Linked DNA regions of Homo sapiens: all the other regions are linked to region 1. Evidence: promoter capture Hi-C in 16 types of primary human blood cells and fetal thymus (Javierre and others, 2016). All regions are on one chromosome and are shown on one strand. The core of a region is centred on a gene start or on the middle of the fragment in contact, and the rest is flanking DNA. Distances in the headings are between cores, read along the strand shown.

Region 1 (4,342 bases), core at 782-3,281:
ACCGGAATAGAAATGAAGGCAAGGCCAAATTTGAAGCTGGCTTCCTTTGCCAAGAATGATCCAGTAGGGCACCGCCTATTTTTAGGGTGCGGCTGTCTGGATCGGGGGCTGCTTCTGCAGAGTGTAATTGGAAAGGTGGGGGGAAGCAACAGCTGTACTTTGGGGGCCTGCCTTTGAGCTCATCATCTGAGTTACTGAGGTCCCCTAGCGGCTGTCAGAGGAGGCCCAGACTGTCCAAATTTGATAGTAAACGTGAAGAGACCACAAGACCAGGGTGGGAACCAGTCCCCGCCCGTCCCCAATCCATCCGGCTCACGCTCCCCACCCCACCCATGCCTAGTATCAGCAAGAAGCTGTTGTGATAAATAGATTATGAAGAAACAGGAGCCCGGACTAGAGAGACGATAGTGAGAATATAAAAGAAGAAAGATAATCTCTCTCAATCTTTTTAACTTTTGTAAGAGGCCTAATTTTTCCTTTTTTCCCCTCTTTTCTCTTTTATTTTTTCAACAACCTCTTGTCCAACTGACTAATTTTCTCTAGATGCCACTTTTTCCATTGCAGAATTACTTGTAAGAAAGAAAGGGATTAAAAAACAAGAGTTGGAAGCTGTCCTTTTGGACAAGATATTTAAAACCCTACTGTCCATCTTCCATCCTAAGTGGTCCCATCTTTCTAAAAGGAAATGCCTTCCATATTCTTCCTAAAAAAGCAAAAGCATAACAAAACAAAACTGGAAAACTGTTTCTTCTGCTTGAGACACAAGGGCCATTATCTTCCCACCTTTGGCCCCACTGATCCTTGACAGGATGTCCTGGACCTGCAGCCCAGATGAGGAAAGGTGGGGTGTGGGTGGGGGGTTGACTGACACACACAGCAAGTAGCCTCAAGGAATTTGGGGGTGGGGCAGGCTGCGCCCCAAGGCTTTGGTCCTATCTCCCGCCCCCCTTGCGTTTTTACTTAACACCCGATCACTTCCGTTGCAAATAAAAAAGAAGTAACAAACAGCTAAATTTAATTAGGGATAAGTAATAAAATGACCTGGTTCTCTCTAACTGCGCTCCTGAGCCCTTCGCTGCCGGCCCTGGACTTAGTGGACGGAGCGGGAGATTCCCGCCCAGGGGAAGAGGTTCCCACGGAGGGCATGCGGTCGCGGGTGCCTTTGGATTCGTGTGTTCAGGGAGGCCAGATAATCTCCTCCCCGCGCCGGAGCCCCTGTTCCTCATTTCTAGCATTTTAAAAAAGGTCAAGAATACAGTGAATCCGGCTGGGGGCTGCCGGCTGGGTGACGCGCCTCTGGCTAGACCGAATGGCACAGGCTGAGCCCGGGGGTGCGGACCGGTGGGCACGGAGAAGGGTCCCTCGGCGCGGACTCGACTGCAGGAGCCGCGGCGCCGGGGGTGGGGGGCGTGTGCCGCTCGCGAGGGGGCCGGAGGACTTGACAGATCGCAGCGAAAGAAAACATTAAACCAAAACAAAACCCACCGATTCCCCACGTCGTTCAGCAAAGACATCGTGGGTGGAGCCAGGAGGGAGCGATTGAGTAGAATTCCTCGCGGCCGCCTCCGCCCGCCCACCCCGCGCCCCCGGCCCTCGGCCCCCTGCCCTGCCAGCCCGCCGGGCTCGGCCCGCAGCGGAGGTCAGGGAGCAGCGAGCGCCTCCTCCCACCCGGGCTTCCCGAGTACTCGGCTCTGCTGCTCCGTAGTAAACAAAGTGTCGCCGGCGCCTCCACGCTGGTTTGCTTCCTAGCAATCAAAACACTGAGAAGGCGAGAGAATCACAGAAACACTCGAGAATTACCAGAAAATAATAGAGATCCAAAAAAAAAAAAAGGAGGTGAGTGTGTGAAAGAGAAAAACACCCCACTACCCCCCACCAGCCCACCGCCGCCTCCCCGTGGAAAACCGGGCCCCACCCAGCCCGGCGCCCACTGGCTGCCCGGGCGGCGGTGCCGCATGCCCATTGGCCGCGCGGGCTGTCGGTCAGGGGCGGGCCGGCGCGCGCGCCGCCGCGGGCGGGGGGCGGCGGCAGATCCCGTAAGTCGGGCGGCCTGGTAGTCGCAGCAGCCGCTGCCGCAGCCGCCACATTCAACAGGCAGCAGCGCAGCGGGCGCGCCGCTGGGGAGAGCAAGCGGCCCGCGGCGTCCGTCCGTCCTTCCGTCCGCGGCCCTGTCAGCTGGAGCGCGGCGCAGGCTCTGCCCCGGCCCGGCGGCTCTGGCCGGCCGTCCAGTCCGTGCGGCGGACCCCGAGGAGCCTCGATGTGGATGGCCCCGCGAAGTTAAGTTCTGGGCTCGCGCTTCCACTCCGCCGCGCCTTCCTCCCAGTTTCCGTCCGCTCGCCGCACCGGCTTCGTTCCCCCAAATCTCGGACCGTCCCTTCGCGCCCCCTCCCCGTCCGCCCCCAGTGCTGCGTTCTCCCCCTCTTGGCTCTCCTGCGGCTGGGGGAGGGGCGGGGGTCACCATGGCCGAGGCGCCTCAGGTGGTGGAGATCGACCCGGACTTCGAGCCGCTGCCCCGGCCGCGCTCGTGCACCTGGCCGCTGCCCAGGCCGGAGTTTAGCCAGTCCAACTCGGCCACCTCCAGCCCGGCGCCGTCGGGCAGCGCGGCTGCCAACCCCGACGCCGCGGCGGGCCTGCCCTCGGCCTCGGCTGCCGCTGTCAGCGCCGACTTCATGAGCAACCTGAGCTTGCTGGAGGAGAGCGAGGACTTCCCGCAGGCGCCCGGCTCCGTGGCGGCGGCGGTGGCGGCGGCGGCCGCCGCGGCCGCCACCGGGGGGCTGTGCGGGGACTTCCAGGGCCCGGAGGCGGGCTGCCTGCACCCAGCGCCACCGCAGCCCCCGCCGCCCGGGCCGCTGTCGCAGCACCCGCCGGTGCCCCCCGCCGCCGCTGGGCCGCTCGCGGGGCAGCCGCGCAAGAGCAGCTCGTCCCGCCGCAACGCGTGGGGCAACCTGTCCTACGCCGACCTCATCACCAAGGCCATCGAGAGCTCGGCGGAGAAGCGGCTCACGCTGTCGCAGATCTACGAGTGGATGGTCAAGAGCGTGCCCTACTTCAAGGATAAGGGTGACAGCAACAGCTCGGCGGGCTGGAAGGTGAGTGGACTCGGCGCGCGGCCGGACCTTGGGGGCGCGGTGGGTCAGGCGAGGGCGCAGCTGTGCAGGTTTGCTCGGCCTGAAGGTGCGGAGCAGGAGGGCAGCGCGTTCCCAGGAGGGCGGGCGAGAAGCGGTGGTCGCGGTGGCCTCGCCCGGGTCCGGTCGGGGACGGCAGTAGGTGTGCGTGCGCGCCAGTCAGGAGTTCGCGTGGGACGCGGTAAGGGGCTCGTTGGGGAACTAAGTAAAGAAAGTGCGCCAAGAAGTGGACGTCAGAGCGAGGCCGAAAAGTTTGCCAGTGAAAGGAGAAAGGGGTTCGCTGGGAGCGGCAACCCCCGGCCCGCGCCGACTGCTTCGGCTGCCCCTTCCCTCCCGGACCTCCGCGGGGGGAGGGCGGGTTCTCTCCGGCCGCGCCGCGGAGCTGTTTCCGCCGGGCGCGGCGGGGGAGGGCGCGGCGAGGGGCCCCGGAGCCTCGCTGCCCCGGGACCGGGCTGCAGGTGGAGGGGACAGGCAGGGCGCGACCGGCCGGGGACGGTGCAGGGCCTGCCGGGCAGTTTCTGGAGGCGGTGCGCATTTTGCTTTGTTTTGGTTTTCTCCGGAGTGGCCTCGAGTGCCGGGGGCCCGGCGTCCCGAGCCCGAGGTGGTGCCTCCGACACGTGCGAAGGGGCGGCCACCGCCTGCGGAGCGCCGGCGCCTGGCCGCGCGGGGCGAGCTAAAGTTCAAGTGTGACCCTCGGCGGGGGCGGGCGCGGGCGGTGGCGGTGGCGGTGGCGGTGGCGTGGGAGGGGCCCCGGGCGCAGGAAGCCCGCGCCTTTAAAGGGCCAGCGCGTCGGGGCCGGGCGCCGTGGGGCCAGCGTTTCTCCATGCGGGGAAGCGCCCGAACTTGGTCTTGCCCCTGGTAGGAGGCTTTTAGTTAGAAACACAGAGGCTGCCCTGAGGGGCCGGGGGCTGGGATGTGTGAGTCTTTTCCTGCCTTGCCACCCTATTCTTGAGCATGGAGGACCAGGCGGGGGGGCTTTGCGACCAATGTTTTGAGGGAGTCGGAGTGGCGGTGCGCGTCGAGGGAGCGGTGCCTTGAAGGAGGATTTTTGCCATTTTTGCCTTTCAGAGCGTGGCCAGGAGAGACTTAGCGTGGGGGCAGGCACTTCCCGACTCCGAGGAGAAGGCCCGGGGGCCCTCGGCTCCGGGGAGGCTTCCCGGGGGCGGGGTCCAGTCGTGGCGCGGCCTCCCCAAGCTGACAGTTTCTCACTGTCACCG
Region 2 (4,342 bases), core at 837-3,336, 850 kb after region 1:
CATTACTAAAACTATGGTCAGGTCCCCAAGACTTTGTGGCATGGAATCGTTTACCCTCCTCTTCCCTCATGATTCCGAATCAATCAATCATCAGCTAAGAAAAAAGAAAGCCACCCAAGCCAATGAGTTCTACCATCTGAGCAGCTGCTCCAGCTTGTATAAAGTACCATGCACACTGCCATGAACTGTGGAATGGGAACTATTGACATTATCTCATCTATGGACAAATAAAATGATGAGGATGGCAATTCACAATATTTCTAATACACTAACAATAGCTAATACTTATTGGCTGTTTGCCAAGTCAATAAATGTTATTTATCAAGAATGAGGCACTGGGTACGGTGGCTCACGCCTATAATCCAGCATTTTGGGAGGCCGAGGAGGGTGGATCACTTGAGGTCAGGAGTTTGAGACCAGCCTGACCAACATGGTGAAACCCCATCTCTACTAAAAACATGAAAATTAGCTGGGCATGGTGGCGGGCACCTGTAATCCCAGCTACTTGGAATGCTGAGGTGGGAGAATCACTTGAACCTGGGAGGCAGAGGTTGCAGTGAGCTGAGATCACTCCATTGCACTCCAGCCTGGGCAACAAGAGCAAAACTCCATCTCAAAAAAAAAAAAAAATTAAAAGAGGCTAAGTTCCTCACATTGATTTTCGAATTTATAAGAAAACATCCATTCCTTCCATCTTACATATGAAAAACTGACATGACAAAATTAAGTAACTTGCTAAAGGTCATACAGTGCATAAGCTCTAGATTATGCAGTGGCATGTTAATGTTAGATCTAGATTCAGGGTAAGAAAGCCAAGAGACAGAAGAACAAAAAAGGAGAGACTTTTGCAGTGACTACTACATTTAAGGTGTTAAAGACTTGTCAGTAAGAGATAGAAAGTATTGAGCATCGGTTTTTCTAACACTGTTGTTAGTTCTTTTTAACCCCCATGTTTTCTTAGATGAGCCAGATTGCAAAGTCTCTGACATTGGGGAACATGTCTGATACTTTGAATCTACTATGGGACCGGGCACACAAATAAATGTACCTGTCTGAATTAAGCAAGCTTTTTGCAAAGTTAAAATGGGATCTGGTGGTGAATGGGGTGTATTTACAGCTTGAGTCCCACTTACTTTGTGCAGTGGAGGAGTTTTACCCAAGAACAATCAGCGTGTTTTGGCAGCCCCAGGAGAGGCAGGCATGTCTCTTGAGAAAACAAAATTTAATTTTCTTTTTTTCAAGTGGTTCTACACAGATATTAGAGCCTGGGTGAAAAGTTAGCACAAACAACAACAACAAAGAAACCCTAAGAAAGGAGATGCATCACCCAGGATGCTGCAGGCCTTGATGAGCAGGTTTAAAGCAATGGTGACAATTGGAGCTAAAAATTGTCACAAGAATCTGTTGGAAAAGCCCAGGGTTCAAGAGTCACATGATATAAGCTGAGCCTCCCCACAAAGCAGCAGAGGAGAGACCCCTACGACAAACAGAGGTTCCACAAGATGCCCAGATGTGGGGCTGGAACAGGCAGTTGTGCAGCGTGGCTGCTCAGCAAAGTCCTAGGAGGCACAGAAAGCAAACAGCAAGGGGATGGGAAATGTGCAATTGTTGTATGATATTTTTGGTGACTTGAGCTAGTGTTTGCCAATGGGAAAGCATCAGGAAATCCAAAAGGATAAGTTTCACACGTGTCTGAATGGCTCAAACTCAAATACTCACTCAGATTGGAATCAGATCCCCAGGAGGTCACCTGGACCCTTTCTGCCACAAACACAGACTCATACAAGTAACAGGAATAATTTCTTATTTCTCCCAGTTAAATGATGGTGGAGATAAATTAGGTCAACATTTCTTTCTTACAGCTATAAACCATGTTTTTCAGAGATTCACAGTGGTGTCATATTAATATTAATATCATCTTGATTTTGCTGCTTTATGTTAACCCCTGTGTGGTTGTAGGAACCTCCCCATCTCCTTTAATTATAAATGGGAATCCCTGGGGTTCTCTCATTCTCACTGACATTCCTTTTGGCTCCCCTGTGTGACTCCCCGCAGTTATATTTCCTCTCCCATCTGAGCCTCCATTAGGACCATCTATGTCCAGGCGTCAGTTCCCTAAAACCGCATGAAGCTCTCCACCTCCACCTCTGGTACCCACTGGTGTGCAGTTTCCCACTGTGCCTCTAGGGCCACTGCTGTCACCAGTACCACTCATCACTGCCTCGGCCAGGCCCTGCAGGAGCCCTCCAATGCCACTCCACCTGCTGCGTACTGAACCTTTGTGCCCCCCCAAATTCATATATTGAAACCTTAATTCCCAATGTGATATTTTTATATGCAAATGTATATATTTGGAGGTGGGACCTTTGGGAATACATTACATTATGGGAGTGGAGCCCTCATGATGGGATTAGTGCCCTTATAAGAGACATAAGAGAGCTTGCTAGTTTGCTTCCTCTCTCTCTCTCTCTCATTCTCTCTCTCTCTTTCTCACTGCCTTGTGAGGACATACCAAAGAAGAGAGCCCTCACCAGGAACCAAATTGGCTGGCACCTTGATCTTGGGCTTCCCAGAGTCCAGAACGGTGAGAAACAAAATCTGCCATTTAAGCTACCCAGTCTATGGTATTTCTGTTATAACAGCTGCAGCTGACTGACACATCATCTTTCCTGCCTCTGTCCTGATGAGTTCAGCTGGCACACTGGGGCCACGTTCTCTGCAGTACTCAAAGGCTGAGGCCACCACACAGCCTTGTGGTGTCATTGCTGAAATGGGGAACTGCCTCTCTCCCAAGTGTGAACACAGAAGTCAGGATACAGGCACTTCCCTCTACCCCTGAATTGTTGTGACATAATTCTTTCCACTTTCACTCACTGCACTCAAGCAAATTCACTGCAGGGTGGTGGGCAGGAGGCTTCTCTGGCAGTCCACCAGACTCATCGGACTCAGACTGGTTTAGAGCGGCGCCTCACGATGGCATAATGAGTTCTGCCCTACAAACATTACCAGGTTATGTCCAGCACTTGAAGATTATTGGAAGGATATGAATACATGCCTCCTGAGGCTTCATAGCTATTGTGAAAACGTTCTTTGCCAGTCAAGCTTCATTTCACAAAATCAGCATTTCCATTTCAACAAAAATGGCATGTCCAATCCAATTTTGAGTGCTCTTACTCAATGACTTGACAAGCCCCAAAGTCATCTGCTACTGGGGTTTGGTGTTGGGGGGGGAGGTGGGAGGTGGGAGTAGCACGGGAGACACACACCTAAGTGTGGTGGAAGGAAAATGCTGTCCACTCTTCTCCTGGCACCAGCCAGGACTGGAGAGGCCATGGGTGCTCCCTAGAGGATGTTGTCTGCAACTTCTCTGGGAACAAGAGACATACATTCCCTTCCTCAGTGGTAGCCTTGGGGCAGCAGAGGCGTGCTGTGTAAGACAGGAAATCAAAGTGCAGGTGATAGAGGACTCAGAGGGCTTCCAGTTGGGAGCCAGAAACTGCTAACCTTAGAACTTTGTTAGGCTCTGTAACTTGGGCCAGAGGGATATGGTGTGGTAAGAAGAATGTGGGCATTAAAGTGACAGGGGGAGAATTCCCTAACGTCATCGGGAGATAGTAATGCCTCAGATAGTAAATGGACAGTCATTCATAAGGGCCAGAGGCATATGGTGTGGTAAGAAGGACGTGGGCATCGGGGTGACATGGGGAGAATTCTCTAACGTCACTGAGAGATGGAATTGCCTCAGATCGTAATGGATAGTCATTCAGAAGGGCCAGAGGCATATGGTGTGGTAAGAAGGATGTGAGCATTGCCCCAGATAGTAATGGACAGTCATTCAGACTGTGTGTGACAGTGAACAGCCCTGGTGTTGTGCTTACTGCATGGAAGGCACCCCACCACATGCTGTGATTCTTCACGTGCCTCTGCCCTTTATGCGCTCAGCCCATTTTAACAGGACCCGTCTTCAAGAACAGCAAATAACAGGGCAGCTGACATATTGGGTCCACTCTCCTTCCACTAAGGCTCGAAGAGGAAGAAGGAGGAGGGCGTGAATATCCTGGGATAGAGAGAGTGGTGGAGGCAGCAACAAACAGGTGAATCTGCTGAGGGGGCTGCAAGGAAGGGAGAAAAGGCTGAGAATGAGGAGTCGCCTGTTGCTGAGAAAGGCCCTGAGTTTGGAAGTGCATCCACCTGGAGAAAATCCAGCCTGCGTGGACACCATGCCTCTGACTCTGTTTATGTGCTATCTAGTACTTTGTGTCATTTCCTATTCTTCCTCTGCCTTACCATGTAGCCTTTCTGTATTTATCAAAGGATAAATTAGAAAAAAAATAAAGTGCTG
Region 3 (4,342 bases), core at 1,062-3,561, 770 kb after region 1:
CGGGTTGTAGAGATGCATAGAAGCTTCATTGAAAAAGTGTTGTGTGAGAAAATCAGTTTTAAAATGTTGAAAATACTGGGCAAGAATATCTTTAGGATCTTTGATTTCTGATATTTATGAAGATCTTTAGGTTGCTTTCATTTCTGGAATTTTTGATCGCATCAGTCATTCTCTTTTCCTGTGCCCTGCCCCCCATGGAGTTTGTTATAAATTATACAATCCCCACCGATGCTTTCTAGGCCTTTTACTCCTCCAGATTTCCTAATGAAAATAAATAATTCTTTCTACTCAGTAAGAAATATAATCAAAAACCAAAGGACCAAGTCCTCCGAACAGGAAGCTCGCCCAGCCCAGCTCTCCCATTTGTGTTCCCTGCCGCTCGGTGCTGCCAGAACTGGGATGCTGGAAAGAACAGTGGGTTGAATTTCAGATCTGAGTCTTTTTGGTCCTGTGTTTCCCACTGTTGATGGGGTTCAGGACACACTACCCCAGAATATTTTAAGCTGAAAGAATTTTAGAAAACTGCAGAAGCAGGAAGGTCACTCTGATCTTCCCCCCACCTTTCTCACCTGCAGCAGGTCATAAAACCTAAAAAGCATTTTCTGACCTTCCCCGGATGCAGGGCATGAGACCCTCATTCATGAGGTGCCCTCCCTATACCCAGAGAAAAGGCATAGCCTTATCTCTGAAGATACAGGGTCACAGAGAAGAATCTAAACAAACGAGTCTTGCTAAGTTCCCCCCAGTTATTAGATCCAAGCATATTCTTCCACAACTGTCTACTCTTCATCAAACTTAGCATAAAAATACACAAGTTTACTATTTCTTTGTGTCTCTATTTCCTTATGAAGGCTTTCGTGCCACATAAAACTTATACTAAATACATTTGTATGCTTTTCTCTCGTTATCAGCCTTTTGTTATAGAGGCCTCAGCCACAAACCTAGCTTTGGTGAGAAAATGGTGCTTTTCTTCTCCTATACTAACTATGCAGATGACAGGAGCACTCTTTCACCTCCTGGGGCTCAATCCCTGAATGAAAAATTTCCATTTTTCTTCCTGTACTCTTAGAATTGGCCTAGAATCAGCTCTGGGGAGAGCTCCCTTATTGCAAGGAGACCAAAAGACTCTGAGGGCACTCAGTCTGCCAAAAGAGCCTTCCAACTAGAGCTCTGTTTTTCACAAGAGTCTATTTGGGTTGGGGTGAGGGACAAGAGCCCTCAGAGAAAATCCTTCAAGAAAAGCCCCAGCAGAATGGCAGCTCCAGGGACAGGGATTTTAAATCAGGGGAGCCAGCTGCTCCTTCTCCCCATTCCCATCTCAGACCCGCAGAGACACCAAGAGGAAGACGGGTGACAGAAATCCTTAGCAGTTGTTTGGTGACGGTGGCACCTAGGAAACAAACTATGAGATATAGAACCAGTAGAATAGGGATGACCAGTGTGAGAGGGATGCAGGAGAAGTAAGGACTCCTGCGAAAACATCTGGAGATGATCATAAACTAAACCTTTTTAAATACTATTTTAGAGTAAATTAAATGACACCATATTATTTATCTGTCTTTGCCACTTGGCCTCAGGAGAAGCTGGTTTCGGAATGAGACTCCAAAGAGTGGATCTCAATGGGCAGCCTCCCAATGATTTTTTCCTCTCCTAGGATGATGTATTGGAAAGAAACACTGTGAGTCTCTGCATCCCAGAATGCGAAGTAGAGCCCCTCTGAAGAGGGACTCTGGTAGCAGTGAAGAGGTGGGGTGAAAGTTGGTTCCGGTGGGTAGAAGACCTTTCCCTGCACCTGAAGACCTACATTGTCGTGGGACAAGGGAAGAGATCATTACAACTGTAAAGAATTAACTTGCATGAATAGTGAGGCACTGGAGTGCAGTGAGCCCAAAAAAGGTTAAGCTTTCTTATTCACACACACACACACACGCACACACACACAGAGTGGGAAAAGATACCTGAGAAATGGACACTATTTTCCTAATGACTGCCAAGAGTTGACTGTGGACTCCTTCCATCAAATGGCCAGATAAGCAATGGGGCCCTTCCTAGCTAGGACTTGGAAGCATTTTGGTCAAAGGAATGGAAGGGCTGAGCCTGTTTTGCTGACTCCCACAGGAAGTGGTGGGCCGAGAGCACAGCTACAGGCTTTCCTGTGCAGCGTAAATTGGCCCAATGTGTGCAAAACATTCTTATCTGATAAAGAATGGAAGTGCGAGCGTGTGCTAAAATGTTGGAAATAATATGGGGTCTCTGCTTCACTCTTCCCTCATTTTTCTTTCTCTGTTGTCTCTTCTTCATCTTTGGCAGTCATACTGGGCTCTGGGTTCTTTTCTAGCTTCTCATATGGTTTTGATTAGGAGAGACAAATATAACACAGAACAGAGCTGATCTGAGTTCTTCCCTCTTCTTCTGGATGAATATGCTTAATTGTTAATCTTCTTGTATGTTTACATCAGGAATACACACACATACGCACAGACACACAGACAAACACACACACACACGTATATTCAACATAAAAGCATCCCTTTTTAGCCTATCCCTTTTTAAAAGATGTCAAGGAAAAAAAAGTATTAATATAAAACCAACTACACTTTGCTAAAAACTATTTCTTTTCCAGGAGGAATAAACTAAACCTGTAATCAGACATTTGATTTCCAGTCCTGGCTCAGCGTCTAACTAGCTGTGTGCCTTTAGACAATTTTCTTGAAGCTTTTGGTGTTAATTTTCTTATCTCTAAAGATGAAAAATTTGGATTAGGTAAACTCCCAAGTACCTCCCAGGAGGTGTTATGATTATCTTTGTGAGGTATATTGGTACCACATTTATGATAAAAGCTAAAATGGGTCTCTACATGCACACGAAAATGAAGGCAAAAATAGCAAAACAAAACAGGCATTTGTATGTATTTCTCTAATGAAATTTTTTAAATGGCCAAAAAGTAAAGTGTTTTGCAGTTTATTAGCACCATTTTACTAAGCACATAGGAGCAGCAGGAACACAGATTTCAGAGCCATGTACAATATCTGACACTTAGAATGCACATAGTAAATGTCTGCTGGAGGGTGTACTGCTCTAGCTGCAGACAGGGTAGCATAGCCTAGTGACAAGAGCACAGAATTTCTAATAGTAAGACTCAAGTCTCAGCCCCACTACTTACAGCTCTGTAATTAAGAACTAGCCTTTCTGAGCCTCAGTTTCCTCAACTGCACAATGGGATGAATTCCTGCACTTCAAATCTTGGGGTAAAATCAAATGACAAAATACGTATGAAAATGTTTCACAAAATGTTGAGTACTTGCAAATGTTCAATTTGTTCTGTCACTGTCCTAAAGATACATGTCTGTTTCCTTAAACTCAGTATTCATTGGGCACCTTTGCACACTGTGATAAACCGATAATTTTACCCCAAATTATAGCTGACTCATTCAACTTTAAACTGCAGGAAGTATACCTGGCCACTAAGATGAATGAACAAGAGAAATGAACACACCCATATAATTTTTTTAAATTACCCAGTAAATCCATCTCACCAGATGAGCTGAGAAGTCTTTGCTTTCCAAATTCTACAGCCTCTAGTAGGGTGCTAGAAGTCTTTCCATCCTAAACACGGCCAACTCAAGGCAGAGGCCTGAGGAGTTTGCCTCTTTTATCATCCTAAAATAGCTTTTGTCTGTGTGGCAAATTTTAAAAACTGTTTATTTGGAAATAATTTGAAACTTACAGACAGCTTGCTTAAAAATAAAATGTATAAACACAATTGAAATCCTCTACCCAGATTTACCTGACATTTTACCCATCTGCTTTATCATTTGCTATTCCATCTATCTATCTATCTATCTATCTATCTATCTATCTATCTATCTATGATTTATCATCAAATTTCTTTTCTGAGCCATTTGAAGTAAGTTACATATGTCATGGTCTTTTACCCTTAAATATTTCAGGGTTTATTTCCTAAGAATAGGGGCATTTTTATACATTACCAGAATACAGTTATCAACTTCTATAAATTTAATATTGATACATCTTAAGATATCTTTTGCAGGAACTACGGCTTCCATGAAAGACAGTGGGATAGCTGGGTGTCAGAATTCTGTTTCCGTTCTTGTCCTTGCTCTCCCACTCCAGAGTACTAAACATTGAACATTCGAGCCTTAGAATGTACATCAAGGAAGTTGGCCTCTGCGACCTGTAAAGTGACTTCTGGCTTTGAGCATTATTTGCTCTAAGACCAGGCTGCAGTTCTGTCCCTAGGCAAGTTCCCAGTTCCAGGCAACTTGGAGCAATATTTATTCGGTCTGCAGGTTTGGAGAGAGTGGCTAGGAGATTCATATAA
Region 4 (4,342 bases), core at 1,234-3,733, 730 kb after region 1:
TGGTGTTTTATGCAGGGCTGATGCAAATAACAAATAACAATCGTTGAGTTAACGTATCCTGCAAAGACTTGCTAGAGCTTCCCCTTGGAATCTCTACTGGACACAAACAATAGGAATCCATGGCCTTGACCATGGCAAGGCAAAAGAAGGTTTCAGGGGTAAGCTGATATTTTGAATATCCCAGTTCAAAGAATCAATAGATTCTTCAAGCAGAACTAAGTCCAATTACAACTCTAACCTACCACAATATAAAAAATAAAGTCAACTCTAATGGTTGCACACTTTATGCCTAGAGAATTTTGTAACAGCTATTGTAAAAAACACCAAGTTTAATTTTTTAAAAAAGCATAAAGGGAATTTAGTCTTCTAATGAGTGCTGGCAACCCAGCAGGATGTCCTGAGGTCTCTCTGTGAATGCATGCTGTGGATCTGACAAGTCATACGCATAGAGCTGAACTGGGGAAAGCTTGGCCAATGGCCAAATATTGAACAGAAACTAGACGATCTCTAGTTTTTACACAGATGCCTTTTTCTGATTATCAGAAAGACATTTAGTGCTAAACACATGTGAGTGAGAGATAAAAGGTTAATTAATACACACACACACACACACACACACACACACACACACACACACACAATTGTATTGTCATTTCCTGACCACACCAGAAACTGCATTTCAACTCACTGCAATTCTGCATAGTGGCACAACATGCCAGTGTGTGCTGAAGTAGCACCTTAGCTCTCCTGAACACAGTCAAGAAGCAGAGGGGTAGGCTCTAACATTTAATGGGTAACAACCACAAGCCAGGCTTGGTCTAGCCACTTTACATACAACCAGCTTTCAAAGTAATCCTGTGTGGGAGGGAAAACTAACACACATTCAATGTCTTCTCCATCAAGAACTTTATATAGATTAATTAAGTCCTTTAATTCACCCAAAGAGTCTGGACTGATGTTTTGAAACTTGCCTTTTTCACATTCTGAAGTATTACAAAGATTTTCCAATCAAGATGTGAAATATTCTACAACTTTTCAATGGTTACATGGTATTGACTGAATGAATGTACTATAACTTATTTAATAGTCTCTTACTACTGAACATTTATGAAATTTCTATTGTTTTCCTATTACATATAATGCAACAATAAACTTCCTTTTAAATAAGTTTAGTTCACTTCTGTAACAATTTTATCAAACTTTATTAGTAGAAACAAGTTTCCGGTACATTTTCTGAAATTTTGATTCATATATCATATTCTTTCCTGTTATATAGCATTAATTTATTTCCCCTGCCCTGAGTGTGTAATTTTCTTTTTATTATTATTATTATTATACTTCAAGTTCTAGGGTACATGTGCACAACGTGCAGGTTTGTTACATATGTATACCTGTGCCATGTTGGTGTGCTGCACCCATTAACTCATCATTTAGCATTAGGTATATCTCCTAATGCTATCCCTCCCCACTCCCCCTACCCCACAACAAGCCCCGGTGTGTGATGTTCCCCTTCCTGTGTCCATGTGTTCTCATTGTTCAATTCCCACCTATGAGTGAGAACGTGCAGTGTTCGGTTTTTTGTCCTTGCAATAGTTTGCTGAGAATGATGGTTTCCCGCTTCATCCATGTCCCTGCAAAGGACATGAACTCATCATTTTTTATGGCTGCATAGTATTCCATGGTGTATATGTGCCACATTTTCTTAATCCAGTCTATTGTTGTTGGACATTTGGTTTGGTTCCAAGTCTTTGCTATTGTGAATAGTGCCACAATAAACATACGTGTGCATGTGTCTTTTTAGCAGCATGATTTATAATCCTTTGGGTATATACCCAGTAATGGGATGGCTGGGTCAAATGGTATAATTTTCTTATAAGACTATGATCTCCTTTGGGTTTGTGATTATACCCACTTCCTTGTTACTACACCTGACTACCTATTATTACCCCATTGTTATTTGTTATGACATAAATTTTGTTAATTTGTGGTCTTTGTCTTTTTTTATTATAATTGCCAGAGTTTTGTCTAATTCATTAGTTCTTTTTATTTGTTGGGGTTTTAATCACAAATATTCAACTCTTAGATTTATCAATTGTAATATCTTACATTTCTCACATTTGTTTTTTACTTTTAGCTCTAAAATTCTTTTTTTCTGTAATTAAAAAAAAATCCGAATAAGTAAGTAAAATCCTTGCGTTTTTAAAAAAATTCTCATTTAATGATGGAAACATTTGAGGTTATGATTGTGTCCTTTAGCGCTGTTTTGATCTCATCCTATAGGTTTTGATATGTAATGTTTTCATTTTCAAACAGCCTATAACTGTAGTTTGATTATCTATTTGAGTTTATAAGTTAGAAGAGTAATTTTAATGTCCAAGTAGTCAGAGGGTTTTGTTTGGTTTTGAACATAAATTACTAATTTCTTGCATGGCTTTATGATGGTCTGAGAACTGGGCCTATCTGGTGATGTCATCCAAAACCCAGGCCTCCTTTCTTTCTATTTCTCCATCCTTAGCATATCTTTCACTTTCACACATTCATGTCATGGCCAAAAGATGGCTGCTGCAGCCTATGTTAGTGTTTAAGGCAGAGATAGGAAAGAGGATCTGTGCCAGCCAAGGTGTCCCCTTTCATCAGGAAAGCAAATGCTCCCCCAGAAACCTCTTTGGCATACTTTAACTCAGGTATTATTAGCGAAAACCAGATCCATAGTCATCTCAAACTCCAAGGGAGGCTTGGAGAGAGAGACAAGGATTATAATGATTGGCTTAGACTAATCATGATTGATTTATTGTCTAGGGCTGGGCACATGAATACCTGCACAAAATGAAGCCTCTATTAATAGGAAAGAAGAGGCAAATAAATTTTGTTGGGAAACAACTGACAATAACAAAGTGAGAATAATCCAACATTTTAGAGCATTATCATCATTATTAATTGTTTAACATTATTTAGCTTCTTTCTAAATAATAGTTTGACATTTGCATAAGTTTTATATTTACCAACTATTATTTAGAGTTAAATTTATGCAAAGTTTAATGTTTATCCTCAGATCTTTTAGATCACAGTTTTGTTGTTCTTGAATTCTTTGCAATGATTCATCGATTCATCTCTCATGAGTTCAATCACATTATCAATTTTTTCAGGAAGAACACATGATTCTTTCATATGCAAGGTTCTTGCAACTGAGCTGTGTATAAAATTATGACGTGTCAAGTTTTATTCTGTTAAACGTTGAAGACATTATGTTTTTTCTCTGTTGTAAAAAAGAAATTTGGTGTGCTTAATTATTAATTATTAGTAGATAAATTGTGCAAGTGTGACTGGTGGGATTTTGTTTTTCTTCCTGGGATGATGCTTTATTTTTGTAATGTAATCTGAAAATGTCTCCAGGATAAGTCTATTGTGAATCACTTTGCATTAATTATACCCAGTAACAGATTAAGTCCATCCAATTTGAAGACCCACATCTTACTTCAAATTAGAAAAAAATTCTATTATACTTTTGATCGTTAGAATTGTTTATTGTTTCCCTCAAAAATATAATGAAATGTTAGAATGCCATTATATGCCTTTACTTTTATGTACTTTTATTTTATTTTATATTTTGAGACAGAGTTTTGCTCTTGTTGCCCAGGCTGGAGTGCAGTGGTGTGATCTCGGCTCATTGAAACCGCTGCCTCCTGGGTTCAAGCAATTCTCCTGTCTCAGCCTCCCAAGTAGCTGGGATTACAGGCTTGCACCACCACACTCAGTTAATTTTTGTATTTTTAGTAGAGACAGGGTTTCACCATGTTGGCCAGGCTGGTCTCGAACACCTGACCTCGGGTGATCCACCCGCCTCAGCCTCCCAAAGTGCTGGGATTACAGGTGTGAGCCACAGTGCCTGGCCACATGTACTTTATTTTTATATTATTTCTTATCTTTTTAAATTTTCCTAGAAACTTTAGGAGAATTTTTGAAGTTTATTCTCTGTTATCGATTATATTTTCTATGTTACTAATTTTTTTTTTTACCATTTCCAGTAAAGATTTAATTCCATCATTGCATTTTAGTTTGGTATGTTGCAGGCACTGTTGTAGTTACTTTAATTATCACAATAATTCATGGAAGTAGGTGCTATTTTAATATCAATTTAACGGATGAGAAAACCAGGGCTTGGCAAGGTTGTGTGACTTGCCCAAGGTTGCACGGCCAGTAAGACACAGAGCCAGGTTTTGAAGGATTGGATCCACAGTCCTCATTATAAACTACACTTTCCATTTCTCTCTCAATCTCTGTCTCCTCTTTCGTGTATACACCACTCCTCCACATCTAACAGCACAAGCAGACCTAAGTTTTG
Region 5 (4,342 bases), core at 1,289-3,788, 710 kb after region 1:
CTGATTTTTTTTGTCATAGGTAGAGAGATTTGCTGAGTTTTGGTTTTGGTTTTGGTTTCTTTTTCCCCTTCCCCTTGAGACGTGCCTAATTACCAAGATAAAATTCAACTTAATCCTTAGTGGAACTGCAACAGCTTGGCCTCTAGCATTTCCTAACATTAAAATTTCCAGACATTTTGAAATTACCTATCCCTTTCAAAGATCTTTAAAATATTTTGAAATGACAATGGATTATCTGTCTGTCTCTGAAGCCGTCTTTGAGAGTGCTTAGAAAGAAAGTTCTGTTGTCTGTTAGATATTACAGAATATCAAATCAGGTAATTGGTATTTTTGAGCAACCAACGGGTATACTCTTGCCTATCACATTCAGAGGAAGGTCATCAAAATGTACAGAAGTATTAGATAGAAGGAATCCATTTATCAACACCAGTTTAACTATGCACGAACAAGAGCCTTTATTTCACAGAGACCATTCAACCTATCCAGAAAGTCTACTCTACACATTCTTGTGTGCTGGAAGTGAGGGGATGGAGGAGATGCTCCCCTTAAATGCAAACTGCCTTTTCACCCTGCTCCCACACCTGCCCTCCCACAATTACCTCCTGCCCTCCTTGACTGTATCCCTCTCCTATCAAAGTTTCTTCCTCTTCCACAAAGCAAAAAGTGGTAAAATGAAGACTCCAACCTAGATAGAGACTTTTGAGCTTGCTGCCTGCTCCAGGACTACTTCCCAACTAGTTGTAAAGCTCAACCACTTCTCCCTATCATTTCTGCCACCACAATCCTCAGACCATCATCATCTTTTCTGTGGACTGGCTTCAGCTTTCTAGCGGACTACTGATTTGATAACTTTGATCTGTACTCCATCCCACACTGGAGGGGGCTTTCAAACACACAAATGTGAGCATGCCACTTCAGTGTTTAAAACCCATTAACAGCTTCCCATTATTTTAGGTTAGGAAAAGTCTAAACTTCTTAACCTGACTTACCAGGCCCTCTGTGGTTGGCCCCTTGCACACATCTGCAGTCTCATCTCTCACGTTTCCATATTCCATTCCTCCTTCTAGCTGAGCTGAGTGTTTCCCCTGCTCTCTGTTATGCCTGGGCATTTTTCCATGTATGTCCCTCTCCCTAGAATATTCTTTGCCCTTTCAACTCCCAAGTACCCATGCAACCTAATTATTATTATGGAACCTTTATATTTCGGCTTAAACACCACATCCTCAGGTCTCAACTTCTCAGCAATTTAGGGCCCCTTACTCTCTGTTCTCCTATCATTCTTCCCCTCTCAAAACAGTCAGCATGCTCACAATTATATACTTAGAGACTTCCCTTCTAGACCAGGGGTCAGGAAACTATGACCCTCAGGCCAAATATGGGCCGACACCTGTTTTTGTAAATAAAGTTTCACTGGCACACAGCATGCCCACTCATTTACTTTCTCTCTCTGGCTTCTTTTACACTGCAGTGGCAGAGTTGACTACTCGGAGCCACTGAAATATTTACTATCTGTCCCTTTACAGAAAAGTGTTTGTTGGCATGTGCTCTAGACAATATGTTCCACGATTGTAGAGACTGTGTCTGTCTTAAGTATCGATGTATCCTTAGTACCTAACACAGTGCCTAGAGGTTAGTAGGTGGTCAATAAATATGTGTCAAATGAAGAAAAAAGTGAGTGAATGAAGTGAGTGTGTGGAAGATTTGATGAAAACCATGGAGACTCTTGTATTACCCCACCTTTGGAAGGACATGAATTAAACAAAGTAGAGAAGTAAAGGGGATGTGCAGACCCTGACTCTTGCTTGGTTTGTAACTGTGTCTGTTTGACTGGGGTCTGGGGGAGATTTAGGCTTCATATCTCCCCAAACCTGCTCCTGCCCCTACCTTCCACCTGTTCCTTCCTACAGTCTACTGCCTAGTCCAGCCTCTTTAATCACCCTGTCAGAGCCTTCCTCTGTCCAGGTCTCTGCTGGCTGTAGGTATTTAATAAGTAAGTATTGCATTAATTGTAAAGTCTACAGTTGTCCTCCAGTGGCCCCCATGTCTAGTCCCAGATCCGCCCCATGATTCCTCTTCCCTCCAGGCCTCCTCCAGCCATATGTCTTGGTGTGAATCTTTTCCCACATGCCGGCAGGTTTACTTGCCTGGCGCACTTTCCAAGGACAGGCCCTGCTTAAGGTCACCCTGATGCTTCTGTTGTGTCTTCATCAGATTCAGCAGAGCCTTCAAGCTACTCAAGTAGCCCCAAGGAGGAAAGGCAATTAAAGCTGACTGAATCACCAAGCAAACCACCCAGGAAATCCCCTCTGGGTCTCCTGTGATAGATCTGACTTCTGCTTGAAACCTGGTTCCATCCTCTGCCTTCTGACCCCACTTTCACACTGGATGTCAGAAGTCTGATGCCCTTGGAGTACTTCTCTGTGTCTTCTGGAGTGAGTCCCTATTAGCTCTGCTATCCTCTTACTGCAGACAGAATCTGATGTCCAGCATCACATTTTACTGTCTCCTGTAATAGCTCCTTCAGTGAATGCCAACCCTGATCACAACTTATCTAGCTTCTTGCCTTCTTAAATTTTCTTTTCAATCTAGAATGACCTCCTCTATGTAGGGCATCCCCATCTATGCCAAACTACTTGAGGCAGTATTTGATGTTACTTATTGGGAATCTAAGAGGATCTGAGAGTAGAAAATGAGGCTACATACTAGGTATGGTGCAAATCCATTCATACCCATTAGCCTCAAACCACAGACACAGTTTGAGCTTGTGACTTACTTTAGAGATGCCCACAGCTGTTGAAGACACACAGGACACAAGATCAGGGAACCAGGAAATCTGTTACTAGAGTGACAGGTTTTTTTTTTTTTTGAAAGACTGAAATCCAATCTGTATCTCAATGGTTACTTCAATCACAGTTTAGTTTCATGTTGAAGCTGCGACCCATGTAATACAGGCAAGGACAGATATTGAAATACCTTGGTTAAGAAATGAAAAGAGTGGGCCGGGTCCGGTGGCTCACATCTGTAATCCCAGCACTTTGAGAGGCTGAGGAGGGCGGATCACTTGAGGTCAGGAGTTCAAGACCAGTGGCCAATGTAGCAAAACCCCATCTCTACTAAAAATACAAAAATCAGCCAGGCATGGTGGCGGGTGCCTGAAATCCCAGCCACTGGGGAGGCTGAGGCATGAGAATCACTTGAACCTGGAAGGCGGAGATTGCGGTGAGCCGAGATCACACCACTGCACTCCAGCCTGGTGAGAGAGGGACATTCTGTCTCAAAAAAAAAAAAAAAAAAAAAAGGAATAAATGAAAATAGTGCAAACTCAACCATTATTTAATGGAAGTATTCTGGAATGACAGTGGTGACTTTACAGGAGTTTTTGTGTGGATGGCATGCCACAAAAGTGAGCGAAAGAATACATATTATTTAATCCTCTTTTTTGGTGTTGGGGAATGAATCTTCTGAGAGAAGCTAACTGGAGGAGTGTGGATTTGAAGCAGCCTGGGAGAAAGAAGCAAATGAATTTCCTGGGACCTGTGCAGGCTGCATCTAGAGTGAATTCCAGGTATTCAAAAATACTGAGTGCCTAGTAGGTATGTGACATTGAAATGGCATCAGAAAACAAGGTAGATATGGTATCTAGCCTCACTGAGCTTTCAGTCTAGGTTATAAAAATCGACCTGATTCACAACACAACAAGGGAGAAATCTTACTCTACCAGGAGGCTTCAGTAATGAGATTGGTCTTGCCACGAACCACCACACAAGAAAGAAGCATTTGCCATCAATATATGAGTGCACGAGGGTCCCCAATGAGGCAGCTGCCTATATTGACAACTGGGAGGCACTCCTGGGAAGATGAGGGATTGTGAGATATTATCGGGATTCCTCTTCCTCCCAGATTAGAAGGGCTGGGGTTGGAAAGAATATTTTGCAAGTCAGCTGGAGAGCAGGGCACAATGCTTAATTTGCCTCTCCTAAGCTCCTGTGGCTGAAGAAAATGCCTGTTTCATTAGCACAGTGCTTGCCATTCAGAAGACACATTTCTGCTTCATTCTTTTCAACTCTATTAAGGATTATTTTTATTAATGCTTATGGTAATTTAGGCATGACATGGATGACAAGGCGTAACAGTATGAAACTCTTCCAAAGGATGCTGAAAATACTAAGGCATGGTAAAATCCAAACGTGTCCTCCTCTCATAGTTTAGGTAGGAAGTTTTAGAAGGAGGATGGACACACCCACATTTAGTACTTTGTTTGACAGCTTTTCCCAAGCTGACCCTGACTTCGAGGAAATAGAAGAAAAGCAACAGGATTCCAAATCTGAGCAGCCCTAATCTG
Region 6 (4,342 bases), core at 1,313-3,812, 690 kb after region 1:
AAGATAACACCACTAAATCGTAAATTTGAATTGGATGTATTTAAATAAACACATTTAAATACATTCTCTACTTCTGTCTATTGGAAATGCCGAGGAATGATGACCAGTCCGGTAACACTGACCACTTCTAATAACCAGGCTGTGATCTCCAAATATCATTTGGCAGTAAAAGAAGACAGGATGATTTGGGAAATAATTGATTTCAGATTATACTCAGAAAAGGTCCAATATGAGTCTAGACTCTAAAACATTTTGTTTTTGTGGAAAGCAAGGAAGTTATTCAAGGTTACTGGGGTTATGTTAAGAGAATTTAGTAACCAACTTGTAGGCCGTTACACTTGCCAAAGATGAAATAATTTGAATGTCAAAAACAAGAGTAACTATAATGAATTAAAACATATTAAATATATTAAAATTCATGCATTCATAATTACACTAAAAGCAAACAGTACAACATTGGTGGCCACCTTTGAAGAATGCTAGGGAACCAACTCATTCTGAAAACCTGTAAAGTGAAAAATGCGAACATGGATAGTTTTTCCTGCCCGTGTTTTACCTAAGAGTGACCAAATGCTTGTTGAGTGAAAGTTTTTAATTACAAAAGAATTCCAGCCAGTAAATAGAAAAGAGATGATAGAATTAGAATATCGATATTTTGCAAACCCTAATGAAATACCCATAGCTAAAACCATTCCATGAACTTTATGATGAATGAATCAGGCTGACCATGCTCAGATCCACTGATCGATCTCAATACCACAAAGAAAACCACACAACATATGCCTCCTGAAGATGGAAAGGGAAGTACGCAACATTGTCTATAAGGTATTCTTAATATAACCTTGAACCTGAATAAGACTCTGGATCCAATTTCCACCTTGCAAGAAATATACGAGATAGTAGAAAGCATTAAAGACATGGGGATGGAAGCAGCAAAATCCAGAATACAGGAAGAATGTAGGAAGCTCTACAGAACAAGCAGCCCGATTTCTTTAACAAATATATTGCAACAGGAGGAGAGAGAGGTTGAGAATGAGAATCTATAGATGTGATATAAAAGACATATCGACTGAATTAACGCAGCAAGAAATCTTGGGAGAACAAACACATTGACATAGGGTCTCCAAAGTATTTATGATTGAGGATGGCCTGTGTCATCAGCAAGCAAATGCTGGTATGAGGTCACTGGTATGGAGGGGGAGGTCTCAAAGAGAAAAGCACACAAAGAGAGAGCGTGAGTGGAGGCCCTGGTGACCAATCTTCCCTCCTTTCACTCACATTCAAGGTCCACATGGCTTGCAAAATGTGCACTCACATTTAGGGCATCTACGGGGCATAGGGCTCAGTGCACATTGTCCCTGTTTAAGATCATCTCTCACCCTAACAGTAGCCTGAGGGTAAGCTCCCACTACTGCAGAATTTAAACTCTGTGTTTTTATTCAATACAAATATCACTGTCCACCCATGTAACTCATGTACTGCAGTGAGCACTTGCACATACATGACCTCACTTAATATTCACATTGTGCTAATATTGGAATTATTTCTAGTTTGCAAATAAGAAAACAGACTCCAAGATATTAAAGGCAAGAGTAAGTTCACATAGATAACAAAAGGCAGAGCCTGGATCCAGTTTCTGACAATAAATTCTAAGCTTTTTTCCCCCTTAAAGTCCCTTAAGTGGGGAGAAATTAGGTTCTATTGGGCTTCTCTGACTTATCCTTTCCTAATGAATGATGACAAATGTCACACCCTCTCTCTCACCCTGAAATCATCTCCATCATCAGGGCAATCCTATAACACTCCATACGAAAAGTAGATCTCTTGGGGAAATTTTCTTTCTCCTTCTCAGATCATTTTTATTGGAGTTGAAGGCAAAAGATAACTTTTTTCCTCCCCAGTCATTTTGAGGCGTTCAGACTAAAATGACACCCTTGTCAAAGTATTCTTAATGCTGTGCTCACTGCTACACAAATGCAGACAGATGATGGAGGGGAGAGGAGGGGTGAAGAGGAGGTGTCCCTGAATTGATTAGAGATTGCTCAAAATGGATCATGCTCAACTGAATGATCTCCGTTCTCCCCATTGTTTTCCATTCTGATGGAGTAGCATCTGACTGGTAGGCGGAGACTATTTGGTATCTTTTTTTATGTAGTTGCCAATTCTCCCCACTTGTGTCTTGTCACTTGCAGGCTCATGCCTGCTGTGAGGCGGATTACATGCGATTGTGTGGGAGTAGGGTTGCTCAGAGGAGCAGTCTCCCGACACGAAATATTGCCTGTGCAGGTAAGAACTAGTCTTCAGAAAAGGAGGAGTCTCCCCAGAAGCTACTTTTTGCTCATGCTAAATAACAAGGAAAGAGGAGACTGAGAAAGGGCTGTAATAAAGAGGCACTAAATGATGTTTCAGAGAAGATGTCCTGTGCCCTGGAGCGTCCAGGTGCATCTTTATGAAGTTGGAATTTTATAAACCCATTTTGCCGGAGAGTAGATCATGAGTACGTTTGCTCATTCTCTTTTCCTGCTCAGCTACTAAACGCATTAGAACGGGGGGTTAAACTCCCTGATTTAATCTATAGAAGCCTCCATATTATATATTCTTCACAGGGAAGAAATCATAGAATGAGGTCTCCTTCTTTCTGTAGTTCGGTATTTTTTTCTGTCATATTGTCCCTTGAGGTTACAGCATAGATTATGAAGAGAATCTTTTGTTTCTGTCACTTATTACCACATCAGTTCATATATTTATAAATAAGATGTGCTTTGGTATGATATAAAAAATCAAAACCAGGGGAGCTAAATGATTAATATATGAGCTCATCCATAATGATAATGGTGACAATGCCTGCACAATACCATTCTTGTTAATTAATTCAAAATAATAGCACAAAACTCAAGAGACCCTTTGCTTTCAGTCCTTTACATCTTATTGGTTATTGCTTTCTTTGTCTGCATCATGAAAACCATGAATGCATGAGCCTGAATACAAAGGAATTATGTGGTTTCAAAAGAGAGCCCTTGAGTAGCTAGAATACAACTCTGTTAGGAATTAGCTAAAGATGCTTTGGAGGACTGCTTCAAATTATATAATATATACACTGGTAAGGACCTATTTAATAACATTAAGGCAGTATTTGCCCATTGGCTGCCTGAATGAGTCCTCTTATCTCATATCATTGATTAGTTATCTAAAGTCAGCAGATGATCACCTGTTCTTATCCATTCAGAGGTACAGTGAACATGTACTGATGACGCTTAAGGTTATAACAGTGTCAAGTTCAGTCTCACTGTTTGGGCCAGGTGAGATTGGCAGCATCCTCTTGTAGTATTTGCTTCAAAGAGGTTAGTGCCTATTTAAGAAACTACCATAAGCTATCTCAAGAGTAAAAAATGAATTTATATAATTTGTTCAAAAGCATGTCAGGGATATTATTCAGATTTAGAAATTGAATCAGGGACAAACAAGCTTACCTAGCATCTTTTGGCACAAAAGATATCCAGTCTTAGAACTTGGCCTTAGGATCACCTAAGATTTTTTATTTGACAGAATACTTAACTCTTTTGAATACTTACATCATTGAAGGTGTCCACTGAAACACTTTATGCGGACTTGCTAATTTAGAAGACATGAATTGACATTGCGATGACCTTGGGAAGAGAGATAACATGGAAGAAGAGGAGATAAATGGGAGAGGATTTTGCTGTCTATCAGGATGGAAATTGATAAGCCATTTTTTAACACTCCATAATGGATCTGCCATCCAATATCAATAAAAAATCACCTGTCTTTGTGAGGAGACCTAATTCAGGAAGCTCACACTAGAGTAAGCCATGGCACAAGGGTAGAGGACTTTGCTCATGTCACATTTCTTAACACAGATCCAATATATCACAGGTGCTTGATGACTCCCTGCTGTGTGTATTCATTCATTCATTCATTCATTCATTCATTAACAAATGAGCTAACTGTAGGATTTCAAATCAAATGCCCTAATCTTTAAAAATCTAGAAAAGATAACACAGCACACACTCATATAACTAACACCTTGAATTTAAAATATAGCAGCATTTTATAATATTGTCTTCCAATATTTTTTAATGAAATAAAACATTACCAAAAACGTTAACATTTTTACCCACCTCAATTCTCAACCTTCTTCCCCCTTTCATAGAGGCAATACTAGGTATTCTTTTTCTGAGAACCAATATTGGTGTGTATTTAGAGAAACTCAAAGAGAAAGCATGGTCAAAGGGCCTTCTGTTGACTATAATATTCAAAGAACTTTCTAAGTTGTAGGAGCAACCTGATAGTAATCGAGGAGATTATGTATAAGCTCAAAATA
Region 7 (4,342 bases), core at 581-3,080, 650 kb after region 1:
ATTGTCTTTCCTGGCACCAGCTGATAATGATCCTTCATCAGTAACATTGTGCCTATAATTGCTACTGTTTCTTATTAAAAAGTTGAAAGTGGCCGGGAGCGGTGGCTCAAGCCTGTAATCCCAGCACTTTGGGAGGCCGAGGCGGGCGGATCAGGAGGTCAGGAGATCGCGACCATCCTGGCTAACACGGGGAAACCCCGTCTCTACTAAAAATACAAAAAATTAGCCGGGCGTGGTGGCGGGCGCCTATAGTCCCAGCTACTCAGGAGGCTGAGGCAGGAGAATGGCGTGAACCCGGGAGGCGGAGCTTGCAGTGAGCCAAGATCACACCACTGCAGTCCAGCCTGGGCGACAGAGCGAGACTCCGTCTCAAAAAAAAAAAGTTGTAAGTGTATGATATTTCTTTAGTAAATAACTTATGAAGCTAGTGGAGTCAGTGAAGTAATATGCCAATTAAGCAATTAAAAGTGTGTTAAGGCATAAACTACCAAAGATGCAGCAATATGGATGAATTCCAAAAACATTACGTTGAATGAAAGAAATCAGCTATGAAAGAGTACACATTCAATGATTCCATTTATATGAAGTACCAGAAAAGGCAGACTAATCCATGATGATAGAAGCAGAAGGGTTTAGCAAGGGGAGGTAGGATTGACTCAGAAGGGTCACATAAAATCTTTCTGGAGTGATGGAAATATTTCGTATCTTGGTAGGGATATGGATTAAATGGGTGTATGCACTTTTCAGAACTCATTGATTTGTACAGTTAAGATCTGTGCATTTCATTGTGTGTAAATTATACCTCAATGAAAAAATTTAGGCATGTTATAAATCAATTTCTAATGATCACTTTATGTCAATTTTATGACATCTTATTTAACACCTGAGTAGCTAGTTTCATTTAGTCACAATAAATGGAGAAGATATCAATTGCTAAAACCTGTTCATGAGATAGCAGAATAAAGTGATTCTAATAATAATATTACTTCATTGCATACTGACTATATGCCAAGCACTATGCTATTGCTATCTTTGAGAAAACACTCAGACATACAGAATTTGAGTATTGTCCCAAATATTAATAAAAAATAAATGGCAAAATTCAGGTCTCTGTGAACATGCAGTCCCTTACCTTCAACTACTGGGGCAAATGTGGTCTCTTTTAGAGAAGAATGTGAGAGTTTCCAGTCTTTTCAATGATGCAATATGCAAACAAATACTTACTGAACCTGTGCTCTGTTCCAGGCACGGTGCTAAGTGTTTCATGTTGCTATCTCTGTAGAGTTACTATTGCTTTCTTTTTTATGGATGAGGAATTTGAAGGTCCAAGAAGTTAAGCAACTCCCTCAGATCACAAAATAGGTACAAGATCTCAGATTCCATTCCAGGGCCAGTGAAATCAAAGTCGCTAGTATTTTCTACTTTCAGTGATGCTTAACTAGGAGCTACATCAGAATCAATGATAGGGAATTTTTAAAGTAGAGATTTCTTGACCCTTCCTTGGGTGTTCTTATCCTATAGATAATAGGAAGCTCAAAGATTGATCTTTTTTATAAAGCCCCACTGGTGATATAAGGAGCTTCCTACCTGAGAACCAGTATACTAAGCTGTCATTGGTTTGTCAATAGTATTCCTTCCTCTTAAAATGTCTATGAATTTATCTTATTGTAAAAATTAAATAGAGAGGAGCCCTCCTGTAATGACAGACAGACAGGAATAGACCTCAGTACATCTCAGTTTAGCTTTCACATCTGCCGTTAACTGACCGTAGGGTTATAGGCAAAGTCAGTGAAACTCTCTGAGCCACAGTATTCTCATTTGTAATATTAAAGTGTTGAACAACACTTATCTTTAAGATCTCATTTCGTTCTAACAATCAATAAATTAAAATCAACTTATTAGTTAAATTCTGCAACGCTTTTGAAGTACTTGGAGAGATTCTGGAGTTTCGTACAATTGGGTAGGAATTTGTTGAAATGTTGAAAATAAACATGAGACCAGGTGTGGTGGCTCATGCCTGTAATCTCAGCACTTTGGGAGGCCAAGGTGGATGGATCACCTGAGGTCAGGAGTTCAAGACCAGCCTGGCCAACATGGAGAAACCCCGTCTCCACTAAAAATACAAAAATTATCCAGGCATGGTGGTGCATGCCTGTAATCTCAACTACTTGGAAGCTGAGGCAGGGGAATTGCTAGAACCCAGGAGGCAGAGGTTGCAGTGAGTCAAGATAGCACACTGCACTCCAGCCTGGGCAACACAACGAAACTCCATCCCAAAAAAAAAGAAAAGAAAAAGAAAAGAAACATGAAAAATAGCTTAAATGTAGTGATATTTTCCAGGGGAACCTAGAGATACCCATTAGTTTCTAGACAAACTGATTTACCAGAGAAATCCAAGTCCTTGTTACTTCAAGAAAATTAAATAAAAATAACAATTCCATGTTTCATACCTGGGTAAAAGTTACAGCACTGTTCAGATATAATGATGTGCAAGAAGTGGTCTTTACCTCCAAGCAGGGTTCAGGAGATGCCACGAAACAGTACATAATAAACTCTCCAGTGTCTTTATAGACTGTAGGTGCTTCTAGTTGTGTTCAGGAGGTGGCAGCAGTGCAGGTTACAGTCACTGGGCCATTTGTCATTTGACTTGACAATATGAAACCTGTGTCTCACAACAGGTCATTCATTGAGAAATTCCTCAGAAAATACAGGTTAAGACTTTAAACTTGCTGTATTAGGAGTAAGAAGTCAACCAAAGACCAGAGAAGCCTGAATTGAGAGGAAAAAGAGAAAAGCACTTCATTTGTAAAACTGGAAGAACAAACACAGATGGAAGGAACTGGAATCACGAAGAAAGGGAGCCAACAATGACAGGTAGATATATGGAATTGGAAAAGCACAGAAAATAGGCTCAGCAGCAGCTGCCCACTCAGGCCCCACCAAAAGAGGGGTGCTAGCTACGATAAAGCAGTGATTCTGGTGTCCACATTGCTCTCGACCCCTGTTTCTGCACTGACGCTGTTCTACAACTCTGATCCAGCTAGGCTCACTCTTCTTCTCACCCTACTGCATGGGCTTACTCAGATCCCCTGCTGTGTGGGGCATGCCTGCTGCCTTCTTTCCCCTGGCTTCAGCCTCCACTCCACTGCTCTGGTCTCTTCTCAGAGCCAAGCTAAAGCCAGGTACTTATGAGGGGGAGAAGCCTGGGTGAGGGACTTGCTTGAGTGAGGGAAGTCAGGGCCTGGGTTCCTGCAGTCTCAGAGAACATGGTCCAGCTTTGATTCCCTTTTTTCTGCTTCTTTCTCAATTTTGCTTTTATACTGCTTCCTCTCATACGTAGTCATATATATATATATATATATATATATATATATATATATACACACACACACATTTGTATATATGTTTGCTGCATAAGTATATATATACTTATATGTATGCATATATAAATTATGTATGCCGTATAAGTATATATCAATCTATATATACTTATACGGCATACATAATATGCCATATAAGCATAATATGCTGATAAGTATATATCTATATATATACTTACACAGCATACATAATTTATATATGTATATATACATATATAAGTATACTTGTATATAAACATGTGTAATATGTAAATCGTATAACATGTAAATTTATATATGTATATAAATACAGATATACACATAAATTTACATATTATATATGCATATGCATTTATGTATATATAAATAAATTTATATAGTCTTTATATATTGCCTTATTTTATAGTTTATATATAGTTTCATATTTATATAGTAATTTATATATAGTTTTATATATAGCAGTTTATATTGTTCTAATATATAGTGTTAATTATTTTGATTAAAAAGTTTGAAAAAATACTTAAAATAATATTTTAAAGTTGATTAAACTAACCTGATAAAAAGCTGAAAAGGTACATGTTTAGAAAGAGGAAAAATTGAGGCATTCAGCTATCTTCCTATAGACTTTTGCTCTCTCTATGTATTTTGTATTCTTCAAAGAAGAGGTTTGATTTTGTTTTGCTTTTAAATATAAAGCAGTTAATTTGGGAAGAACTCTTACGTAAAATCCTACCTCATGGCTGTCAGGTTTTCTTTGGGGCTAACCTGCAGATTTCTGCCAATAACTGATTATACCGATCTCTTGTCTAATCAGTTGTATCCAGGGTTATGTTTACATCACTTAAGTAGGAAGCCTATGGAAAAAACTGACCTCAACAATTCCTTTGGTCATCCTGTTTTAGAAAGAAGCACTGGACAGAGCAATCAATAAAGAGTTTATGGACTTTTCATTTGTGTCATCAGAAACAACTAGATTTCCCATA

The links. Contacts are between HindIII fragments. The CHiCAGO score rates a contact against its expected background, and 5 or more counts as called.
Region 2: a contact is called between a fragment that was not itself captured here and the fragment with the promoter of FOXO1 in region 1, in 1 of 17 cell types (endothelial precursors). The highest score is 5.1, in endothelial precursors.
Region 3: a contact is called between a fragment that was not itself captured here and the fragment with the promoter of FOXO1 in region 1, in 1 of 17 cell types (endothelial precursors). The highest score is 7.3, in endothelial precursors.
Region 4: a contact is called between a fragment that was not itself captured here and the fragment with the promoter of FOXO1 in region 1, in 4 of 17 cell types (total CD4 T cells, naive B cells, non-activated CD4 T cells and 1 more). The highest score is 5.8, in total CD4 T cells.
Region 5: a fragment that was not itself captured here is called in contact with the fragment with the promoter of FOXO1 in region 1 in 9 of 17 cell types (activated CD4 T cells, M2 macrophages, non-activated CD4 T cells and 6 more); the score reaches 10.7 in activated CD4 T cells.
Region 6: a contact is called between a fragment that was not itself captured here and the fragment with the promoter of FOXO1 in region 1, in 1 of 17 cell types (activated CD4 T cells). The highest score is 5.7, in activated CD4 T cells.
Region 7: a fragment that was not itself captured here is called in contact with the fragment with the promoter of FOXO1 in region 1 in 4 of 17 cell types (activated CD4 T cells, fetal thymus, total CD4 T cells and 1 more); the score reaches 7.2 in activated CD4 T cells.

The regions. Positions count from the first base shown.
Region 1 is chr13:40,664,330-40,668,671 of GRCh38, reverse strand. It overlaps FOXO1 (forkhead box O1), which reads left to right and starts at 2,031. Exons shown (of 3, transcript NM_002015.4): 1 at 2,031-3,089. The coding sequence starts at 2,460. RefSeq lists an enhancer at 1,143-1,192 and silencers at 1,843-2,372, 2,603-2,742, 2,833-2,882, 3,403-3,912, 4,213-4,292. The HindIII fragment of the contact is 11,472 bases long and covers 1-4,342 here.
Region 2 is chr13:39,809,689-39,814,030 of GRCh38, reverse strand. No RefSeq gene overlaps it. Among named protein-coding and RNA genes, the nearest start is that of MIR4305, 150 kb to the right of the region's middle. The HindIII fragment of the contact is 2,036 bases long and covers 1,069-3,104 here.
Region 3 is chr13:39,890,810-39,895,151 of GRCh38, reverse strand. No RefSeq gene overlaps it. Among named protein-coding and RNA genes, the nearest start is that of MIR4305, 230 kb to the right of the region's middle. RefSeq lists an enhancer at 1,986-2,280. The HindIII fragment of the contact is 813 bases long and covers 1,905-2,717 here.
Region 4 is chr13:39,933,518-39,937,859 of GRCh38, reverse strand. No RefSeq gene overlaps it. Among named protein-coding and RNA genes, the nearest start is that of LINC00332, 250 kb to the left of the region's middle. The HindIII fragment of the contact is 4,030 bases long and covers 469-4,342 here.
Region 5 is chr13:39,954,195-39,958,536 of GRCh38, reverse strand. No RefSeq gene overlaps it. Among named protein-coding and RNA genes, the nearest start is that of LINC00332, 230 kb to the left of the region's middle. RefSeq lists an enhancer at 2,439-2,488. The HindIII fragment of the contact is 8,626 bases long and covers 1-4,342 here.
Region 6 is chr13:39,974,487-39,978,828 of GRCh38, reverse strand. No RefSeq gene overlaps it. Among named protein-coding and RNA genes, the nearest start is that of LINC00332, 210 kb to the left of the region's middle. The HindIII fragment of the contact is 1,811 bases long and covers 1,657-3,467 here.
Region 7 is chr13:40,010,635-40,014,976 of GRCh38, reverse strand. No RefSeq gene overlaps it. Among named protein-coding and RNA genes, the nearest start is that of LINC00332, 170 kb to the left of the region's middle. The HindIII fragment of the contact is 5,126 bases long and covers 1-4,342 here.